Linked DNA regions of Homo sapiens: region 2 is linked to region 1. The links are contacts of gene promoters, found by promoter capture Hi-C in human tissues and cell types (Jung and others, 2019). All regions are on one chromosome and are shown on one strand. Each heading gives the region's core, a stretch centred on a gene start or on the middle of the fragment in contact. The rest is flanking DNA. Distances are from core to core; before and after follow the strand shown.

Region 1 (4,739 bases), core at 925-3,424:
TTTTACAATCCAGCTGAAGTCAGCATTCAGAATGAATTTAACACAAACTGTATACGAACTTCCATCTAAAGAACTGCTTATAAGCATCACGTTTTCTGGCTGACCAAACTGAGCACTGGTAAGGCCACATATTCAATGGCGGGAAAAGCAAAGTCTGTACCAGCTGTCCCAACCATAATCTCTGCCTACAGCATTCTAGCCAAACAGCTCCGCTTTCTATACTGGAGAGACCATGTTCCATTCATCAGTATTTGTTCCCTGAACTGGAGCCTGGCGCTCCGTACATGTTTGCTGTATCAACCGCTGCAGAAAGCCAGCTTGGAATTCTCTGTGCTGCTGCTATTGTCCTCCACTTGGAGTTTCTTTCCTCAGTCCTACTCAGTGTACTTTCTTCCCTTGACTACTCATCAACATGGCCTTCCGATGCTGAACGTCTGGATAAAATCCAGTCTCCTCACTCTGACACACATACAGGCCTTCACACCTGGCTGCAACCTTCCCCTCAGGCCTTCTGTCGCATTCCCCTATGGCAGGACACTAGCTCCTCTGCGCCCTCCCACATCTCCCTGCCTCTGCACTTGCTGTTCTTTCAGATTTTCCCCACAACCACAACAGTTCCCACTCCTTTACTTGATAAACTACTACTCAACTTTTAAGACTCAGCTCAAATGTCATCTCAGAAGATTCCAAATTCTGAAGCAAAATCAGACGCTCTCCCTTGGGCTAACGCATTTTTCTCCTCAAGATCTAGTCATTAAACACATGTTTAATAAATGCTTACAGTCTTATGGCAGGAATTTAGACCCTTAGATGTCTATTTCTCCCATGACACCAAGCTTACATGGGTAGTGACTGTTACTGATTCATCTTCGTTATCACCAGTGTCAGGTACCATGCCTGCCACTTAAGAGGCATTTACCAGGAGCTGGCTGAACGGCAGCACCAGTGAGTAAGGGGCAGAAGGGACACAGCCCTGGACAGGGGAGCCTGAAAACAACGGTACTTCAGTTTCCTCATTTATATAAGGAAGTTGGGCGAGATAATCTCTTAAATTTATAATAACTCAAGTTTTACTAGACATTGGGAGGCGAGAATGGCTGACTGCTAAAATCAGTGAACCAAACAAATTGTGACTCGGTAGAAACACTGGTACAGTCTTACAGTGGATGTCCATTTGGGGGTAATCTTTTCTCTGAAATAACAGCAACTTTCTGAAACTACATCCCCCAATGCAAAGACAATTGCACACAATTGAATGCCCTCTCGTCGGGCCTCTGCAATTGGAAAAGGCACTTGTGCTTTACTTGAGCTCTAATCCAGAACTCAGGTCCACTGTGAACCTCACTACATGTTTCAGTGCATTCCAAGAGGGTGCTGAGGAGACCTGTGTCTGTAGCCGGGGAGTGAAGGAAGAGTGTAGGGGAAGCAAGATACGAAATCGTGAAAATATGGAGTTGCCTTATTTTTACAACTTAACATCCAAGAATGCAGAGAACTGTAACTCAGAAACAAATTCACATCAACACAAGTCAAACTGAGCACACATTGTCACAACTGAACAGGCAGGAGACACTACTGGCCAGGGCAGTGTACCAGGTTTACGCAACTCTCTGGAATCATTAATTCTACAGATTATCATTTCTAGGCAGGCAAGAAACCTGGCTTATTCTCCTTTATGTCTCCAAAGCCTAGTAGAGTGCTAGCATTCAATAAAGGCTTCGTGAACTGAAATGGGTTAACCTTTACAAAAACCCGACAGGGTGCGTTTATCGTTATCTCCGATTTAACCCCACAGGGAACTGGGGCTCCGACAGCTCAGTGGATCTGCGCACGTTCAGTGAGCCCGAGCTGTGACCTACGCCCGGGATGGTTAACTCCAACCGCCGCCGCGGGCGACCCGCTGCCCTCCGCCGAGCCAGGCCTGCCTGGGACAGGGGTCGTCACCACCGGGAGCGCCCGGCCGCGCTACCTGGACCACACAGTCCGACTGCAGCAGACACGCGCCCAGGTCCTCCTTCAGGCCCGCGCACGCGCCGCCCTGCGGCTTGTCCTCATAATACTTAGGCATGACGGCGCTTCCCCTCCGATGCGGACGCGACTTTCTCCCACCGCAACACTTGCAACCGGGTCGGGAGCGAGCGAGGCCCCAGTCTCAGGGGACCGGAAGCCAGCGGCAACAACTTCCGGCGGGCCGCGGCGGTAGGGCCGAGGACTACGGGGGCCGAGAGGTGGCGCGTCCGCGGCGGAAGTCGGTTCCCGTGACGCGGCGCGCCCCAAGGGCCGGCTCCGTTGAGGGAAGGGAAGCCCGCCCGGTGGCGGCTGGGGTCGGCTGCTGGGAGGAGGTGGTGGGCTGGTTCGGACGTGGGTCGAGGCTGTAGCAGGACTCCAGGTGAGGCCTGAGGACCACTCTGCCCTCCCGCGGCCCGGGCTCGCGCCGGGGGCCATTTAATCCCGACAGCTTGCGGCCTGACGTCGCTGCGGCCTGGCAGTGACCATGTCGGCGTCCGGCCCCTCGGCCGGCGATAGAGTTGCGGCTAAAATGAAAGGACGCCCAGTTACATTTGCATCGTAGATAAAGAAAGAGCATTTAGTATAAGCATGTCCGAAATGTTGCGTGGGATGTAGGCATACTAAAACCTTATTCGTGGCCTGTCTGAAATCCAAATGGAGCTGGGTATTCTGTGTTTTTATTTGCTAAATCTGGCAGCCGTACCCGCGGCCCCGGGCAGGGAGGGAGCAGCTGGGCTCGGCCAGACCCTGCCGGCGTCTGGGGGGCCTGCGAAGTGGAGGGGAGACGGGCAGCCGGGCAGTGGCCGGCGTTCCCCGGAGCTCGGACCGGTTGGATTGGACTCCGACGCTACCGCTCCCTCTGCTGAACTATTCCGGATGTAAAACACTAGGGATCGGAGTTTTTCTTGGTTTTTTAATCTCATTCTAGTGACCGAGAAGCTTGCTGGCAGTGCGCTGATGGATCTGTGTGAATAGGCCATTTATTTGACCTCTTCAGTAACACTGTTCTAACCGGCTGAAACTGCTTTCTTAGGCATTTTCTTAAAAGCTTGGTGGTTAAGAGCACGGAATTTCGAGTCAGATTTCCAATCTTGGCTCTATCACTATCCTCGGAGTCATGGGGCAGTCACATCATCCCTGTCTCTGTAATGGTAGCTGCCCCTGGATAAGTGTTATTAGGTGATTCAGAAGGGTGGGCTGTTGCCCTTGCCTGAGGTTGCAGTCTGCGGTTCCCAAGCCCCAAGACCCGCCTCAGAACTAACTGCATTTGCTTTTGACTCCTGGCCTTTCTCTAGGGTTGGGAAGAACATGGAAAGTGACCTCCCTGCCAAATAACTCAGAAGAGGAGTGTCGGTAGCCAAATGTTTCTTCAGAATACGTGTAAAAGAAATGTTTTTCTTCCATCTAGGAAGATGTTACCGAGTACTTCAGTGAATTCCTTAGTGCAGGGGAACGGAGTCTTGAATTCCAGGGATGCGGCAAGACACACAGCCGGAGCGAAACGCTACAAATATCTGAGAAGGCTTTTCCGCTTTCGGCAAATGGACTTTGAATTTGCTGCCTGGCAGATGCTCTACCTGTTCACATCCCCACAGAGAGTTTACAGAAATTTTCATTATCGAAAACAGACGAAGGACCAGTGGGCCAGAGATGACCCTGCTTTCTTGGTCCTGTTAAGTATCTGGCTCTGTGGTAAGTGTGTTTATCTGAGATAGAATTGAACGCTGAGTGTTTCTGATTAGATTTTTTGTTATAAATGTGTTGTGGGTCAGAATCTGGAAATATTGGAAACTATTTCTCCTTTTTACTGAAGCCTCAAAAAATCTCACAGGAAAGAAAGTTGTAGTCTTGGTTCTACAGGTCCCAAGCAGATGCCAGAGTAAACTGTTACCCTAGGACATTGAAAAGCAGGGGACAAGATTCACTCCATATCTTTTTAAGTACTTGAATCGGTACCCAAATGTCAGCTGACTGTGAATAGGAATATGAAACTGGAAATTGCATTTCACAGGCAAATCCACAGTGAGAATTGTAAAGGTATTGATGGGAACCTGAGAAACTGAAGTTCTCCAATTCCATAATGCAAGGGTCTCATTTACCTGTAGGGTGTTGAAGTGGGTAAGATATTGAAGTTTATAGGGTGTTTTGCACCTTAACTGGACTTAAACTATGTTAGTGCCTTCTCTACACTGGCGTTCTAAATACTGAGGCCACCGTGGTGAATCAGCCTGGCAAGGGCCCACCTCAGGAAACTTCAACTCTCTCAGTGGCCACGCTGTGTCCCAAGGTAGTGTTCACACATCTTGGGAGTTTTGTTTAAAGACCTGTCTCTCCCACTAGCCTGGGCATCTGGAGGGCAAGGGATGTGTCCTGTATTTCCAGAACCTAGCAGAGTCCCTAAATGAATCTTGTGAATCTTTCTTTCAGTGTCCACTATAGGATTTGGCTTTGTGCTGGACATGGGATTCTTTGAGACAATAAAGCTTCTCCTTTGGGTTGTACTCATAGATTGTGTAGGCGTTGGTCTTCTGATAGCAACTTTAATGTGGTAAGTACCATAACTTTGGTTTTTCAGATACTGCTGTAGCATCTCCATTTGTTTGCTTCAGAGGTACAATAGCAGCAGATGGAAATTGAAACCCAGGTAGAGTTACTAAATGATCAATTTTGACTGCCAAGATTATTACAATTTTCCCTCCTGTGTTGCCACCTATATCAGAAAATACTAT
Region 2 (4,764 bases), core at 632-3,131, 610 kb before region 1:
AGTAGCTATTAGTGAGCACTCACTCTTTTCAAAACACCACATTAGGCACGAAGATCCTTGATCCATTGATACCTCCACTTCATTCCACAAAATACTTAAGGAGGTGTGCAAGAATGCCTTCTATGAATTAAAACTGGAACTAGGAGGGAGTAAACTGTTGGGCTTTCCAGGGTTCTATCTCCTTTGCTGCATAGGTGAATGCACCTGGTATCCTGCCGTTCAACACCATCTATACACTTTCAGGTCCCCACTTCATGTCACCAGCCAGACCTCGCTGTCTCTATTGCTGTTCCCACTCAGGTGTATAATGAGGTGTCTTAAACTCACATGAACTCCACATCTTCCCATGCAAACATGCTTCACCCACAGCCTTTCCTATCTCCAGGGCAACTCCAACCATCCAGTTGCACAGGCCAAAAACCTGGGAGTCATTCTTTACTCTCTCCACATGTACCCAAATCTAACTGCTTCTCACCACCTGCACTACTCCACTCTGGTATGAGCCCTGTCATCCGCTGCCTGGATTTCTGCAAGAGCTTCCTAACAGGTTTCCCTGTTTCCACCTGTAAAAGAAAATTTTCCACTTACAACACTTGCATAGTAGATATCAAAACGGAATGCTATGCTCTACCACAACTGGTTCTAACCAACTGAAGCAGATCAAGGACTGTGAACTTTGAGTGACCCCATACCAGACCCTTGTTAGACCTAACCAAAGACTCCTTTCTGACCAGTTAACAAAGGGACATGTTTTATCAACACTATTCCAACCTATCCAGAGCACTACTTTCCAGCCCTTAATCCGCATAACCTCCAAACTCCCTTCTCTCTTTCTCACACTTAAAAAACCCTGACTTTTCCTAATTCATGAGTTACTCAGTGAACTTTTTCACTGGTGTGTTTACATCCACCCCTGGCAGTATATAAACTCATCTTTGATTTTTTTTTTTTTTTTGAGTTTTGTTGGGCTTTGCTTTATATTTTGACATAAATTTGTACTTTTATAGTCTATTGTCAACCTGACAGCCAGCATGATCCATTTAAAACATAAGACATGTCACGTCTCTCAATGTTCACATCCTGCAGTGGCCTGCTTAATGTTTTTAAAAGCAGTTGGGGAAAGTGAAATTTTAATTTTTAGAGACTGTATATTAAAAAAAGCAATAACAGGGAATATTTGAATACCCATCTCAGGGTAAAAGCTTCCTTGATCTGGCTTGCCCCGGTCTTTCCATTCCTCCTGGATTCCTCCAGGCTCGGTCTGTTTCAGCTGAAATGACCACCATTTTGTTCCTGGAACATATCAGGAATGCTTCTACTCCAGGGTCTATCCTCTAGCCCTCCACCTGAAGTGCTTTCTCCCCACCCCCTTCTCCCTGGTTCTCTGCTGGGCTCACTGTCATACTTCCTCTCAGTCTTGGCTCAGTTATGATTTTCTTGGCGAAGCATACCCTGATCACCACTGTTAATACTGCAGCTTATTACACCTACCCTCAAGACCCAATCCTCCTTACCTTGCACTCATTTTCCCCCCATAACACTTATCACTTTCTATAATACTATATACTTTACTTACTCATTAAATGTATTGTTATTACCAATCTTTCCCCCCATTCGTTTTGCTCACTGATGAATTCCGAGCTTCTACAATATTGGCACATATTGGGCACTCAATAACACTTATTACATGAATGGATAGATGAATGGATGAATGAACAGAACTAAAAGATAAAGATCACGAAGACATAGTCCTTCTCCTCCAGGGAGCTTCAAATCTGGTAAATAAGAGACATATACAAAATATGGTAGAATAGGAAGAAATGAATCAAAGGAGGAAAGAGGAGGAGTATTAAATGAAGGCAACTCTGGGTTCTACTCATTTCTTTATTTACCCAGCCTTTTCAAGTTCTTTAACTGATTTTTCTTTATTTTCAGTTCTCTGTCTCTTTCATCTAGTCTGAAGCCCACAGCAGTCAAGCGAGTAAGAAGGAATATGGCATCTTGTCTGTCTTATTCAGGATGAAGAGTAACCTGCTTATTTTGTCTCCTGTGTCCCTTATTCCTTGGGAGGTTTCCCTGGGTGTTATTCTTAAAAAAAGTCAGCTCACGAAGCCTAAGGTTTAAGTCTGTTCAACTTAGTAGTAAATTATGGTAACCTAGGGTAGGGCAAATAGACCTCAGTCAAGTTCATGCAGCAGGATGAGGGTAGTAGCTTCTGAGCATGTGGGCCGAGCTCTGTATCAGTGTGGATCCCATATTTGAAGATCCTTATTCATATATTCCTCAGGAAAACTAGATTCCTTTGCAATTTCTAAATCTACATGAACTAAGATCTCATCAATGACCACTACCACAACACATACATACCTTTACTAATAAACATACTGGATTTAGATGTGAGAATTAATGATGGGTTTGTTCAATATTTTCCTTCCAAGCTGACTGACACAGTTTATAAGCTTATATTTATTTTTCTGGCATTCTTTAGAAATGTTTTTTGGGACAAACAGCCAAGTTTAACATGAATCAAAATCTTGGCCTGCCCTTTCAACTCCTCCACAATAGGCTCCAGCGCCACTCTGATTTTTTCTCTCCTGCAACATTTAATTATTAATCTTGTGACTTTTGAAAAATGTCATGTGGTTTGGTAGTCTTTCAATTAAAAGGAGGGAAATAATACCCTAGTATTTTTCTTGTTCCTTCCACCTCCCCTTACCATTGTCCTCTCTAGTACTGATGAGTACTTTAAAGTTGATTTTTAGGCTGCCCTGAGTTTCTGAATGTTCCTAAACACCATTATTAAAGAAGCCTGCCTCACCCGTCATTCAACTGTACTTAATATTGCATTGCTTGGTGGAAACTAACAGCCATGGAAAGCCATTCAGGGGAAAAAAAGGCCATTGAACAATGTATTGAGGGATGTTTGTGTTTCTCCCTCTCCCTATTATTTAATTGCTTGTAACTGTAAAATTCCCAGCAATAGTAAGTAAAGGCAAAGATCAACATATTCAAGATGCAGATAAATACCAGAAACAATGAAAAAATTAAAACAGTAAAATAATGACAATTGCAGAGACAAATATAAGGTAGGAGAGACACAATTCTCTCTGCCAAGTCTGGTGTGAGTTCCCTAAATGAAGAATCGAGAATTGGCCATTTTGCATGGCCTCTGCAGGGTGGTCTGAGGGCAGGCATCACAGCTAGCGCACACACGTACCTGTGCAGTGTTTTCCAGAAGGTAAATTCTACTTCCTTTAAATGTTATTACTTTAATTTCTGGTACTTTAACAAGTTAAATTTAGTATTTTAAATCTGATAGGCTGGGTGCAGTGGCTCACGCCTATAATCCCAACACTTTGGGAGGCCGAGGCGGGTGGATCACCTGAGGTCAGGAGTTCAAGACCAGCCTGACCAACATAGTGAAATCTCGTCTCTACTAAAAAAAAATTACAAAATTAGCCGGGCGTGGTGGTGCATGCCTGTAATCCCAGCTACTTGAGAGGCTGAGGCAGGAGAATCGCTTGAACCCAGGAGACAAAGGTTGCAGTGAGCTGAGATTGTGCCACTGCACTCCAGCCTGGGTGACAAGAGCAAAACTCCATCTCAAAAAAATAAAAATAAAACAAACAAATAAATAAAATAAATCTGATATTTTAAAACCACACACCATGGCTGGTCAGAAGTCTTTATGACCATGAATTAACAAGTGTTTGAATTATTCTTAAAAATGTTAGCAAAGAAATAGTCTGTGCAAAATCTCAAGGGGAATAATTTTGTTTCACCTTTAGTCTACATTACGGTGAGCATCTGTATTCAGTCCTAAAGTTTTTAAAACTAATTTTTTAAATTAACAAACAATAATTGTATATATTTATTGTATACATGATGTTTTGAAATATGTATATGTTGTGGAATGGCTAAATTGAGCTAATTAACATATGCATTACCTCTAATACATTCTTATTTGTGGTGAGAACACTGAAAATCTACTCTCTTTGCAATTTTCAATAATACAATACATTAACAATGGTTACCATGCACTGTCATAAAAGTTTGATGCTTCGAAGCCCTTTCATAGTTTATGCAGGCAAGGAAATATTAATAGCAGAGTCTTTGATCTCCATAAAATATGTGTTCTATCACACTGGAAAATATGATTGCCAGTAAGAGAACTGCTCTTTTTGGTGGAGTAAATATGATTTTCATTTTGACAATGTAATTTTGCTTCTTGTGAATCATCTTACACCAAAATAGCCATAGGATTTTAGAACAAGAAATGGATCTTAAATATTTATTTGAGTCTGGCTTTGGAAGTATCTCCTCCACTTCCAGCTATGGTTTGACAAATTACTCAGCCTGTCTAAACTTCAGTTTCCACAGTTTCACGTTTTTAAAAAAGGGTAAAAATAACTACTGAAGATTAGTTGTAAGAATTGAATAAACTAAAGTACCATGGAATTACCTAGCAAATGGCAGATATTCAACAATGTCACTGTTATAATAATAATCATTATTATAAAAAAGAAAACTGAGGCCCAGAAATGAAGAAACCTATCCAAGACCATGGCAGGGCAGAGACATGACTTCCAGGCCAGGGTCTCGTCTTTTGTTTCGTCTTCGGGTCCATTTAATTAAAGTTGTATATATCTTTGGTGTTTTATATGGCAGGCCACTCTTATAATTATTGTTTTAATCTCATAATAATGTCGAAGACTACAGAATTAAAATTCTACTCCTCTAGTAAAATGATAGCATGGATCAATA

What was found. The method cuts DNA at HindIII sites, captures the fragments that hold promoters and counts their contacts. A contact is called where the count stands out against the background at its distance.
Region 2: a fragment that was not itself captured here is called in contact with the fragment with the promoter of COA5 in region 1 in 1 of the 25 tissues and cell types used here (mesenchymal stem cells).

Annotation. Positions count from the first base shown.
Region 1 is chr2:98,606,338-98,611,076 of GRCh38, forward strand. It overlaps COA5 (cytochrome c oxidase assembly factor 5), which reads right to left and starts at 2,175. Exons shown (of 3, transcript NM_001008215.3): 1 at 1,970-2,175. The coding sequence starts at 2,068. It overlaps UNC50 (unc-50 inner nuclear membrane RNA binding protein), which reads left to right and starts at 2,252. Exons shown (of 6, transcript NM_014044.7): 1 at 2,252-2,389; 2 at 3,419-3,702; 3 at 4,438-4,558. The coding sequence starts at 3,423. RefSeq lists an enhancer at 1,327-2,316 and a silencer at 2,380-2,479. The HindIII fragment of the contact is 3,715 bases long and covers 61-3,775 here.
Region 2 is chr2:97,999,118-98,003,881 of GRCh38, forward strand. LOC124905591 (a long non-coding RNA gene) reads left to right here. Exons shown (of 2, transcript XR_007087148.1): 2 at 1,936-2,824. Among named protein-coding and RNA genes, the nearest start is that of TMEM131, 5.6 kb to the left of the region's middle. The HindIII fragment of the contact is 3,554 bases long and covers 105-3,658 here.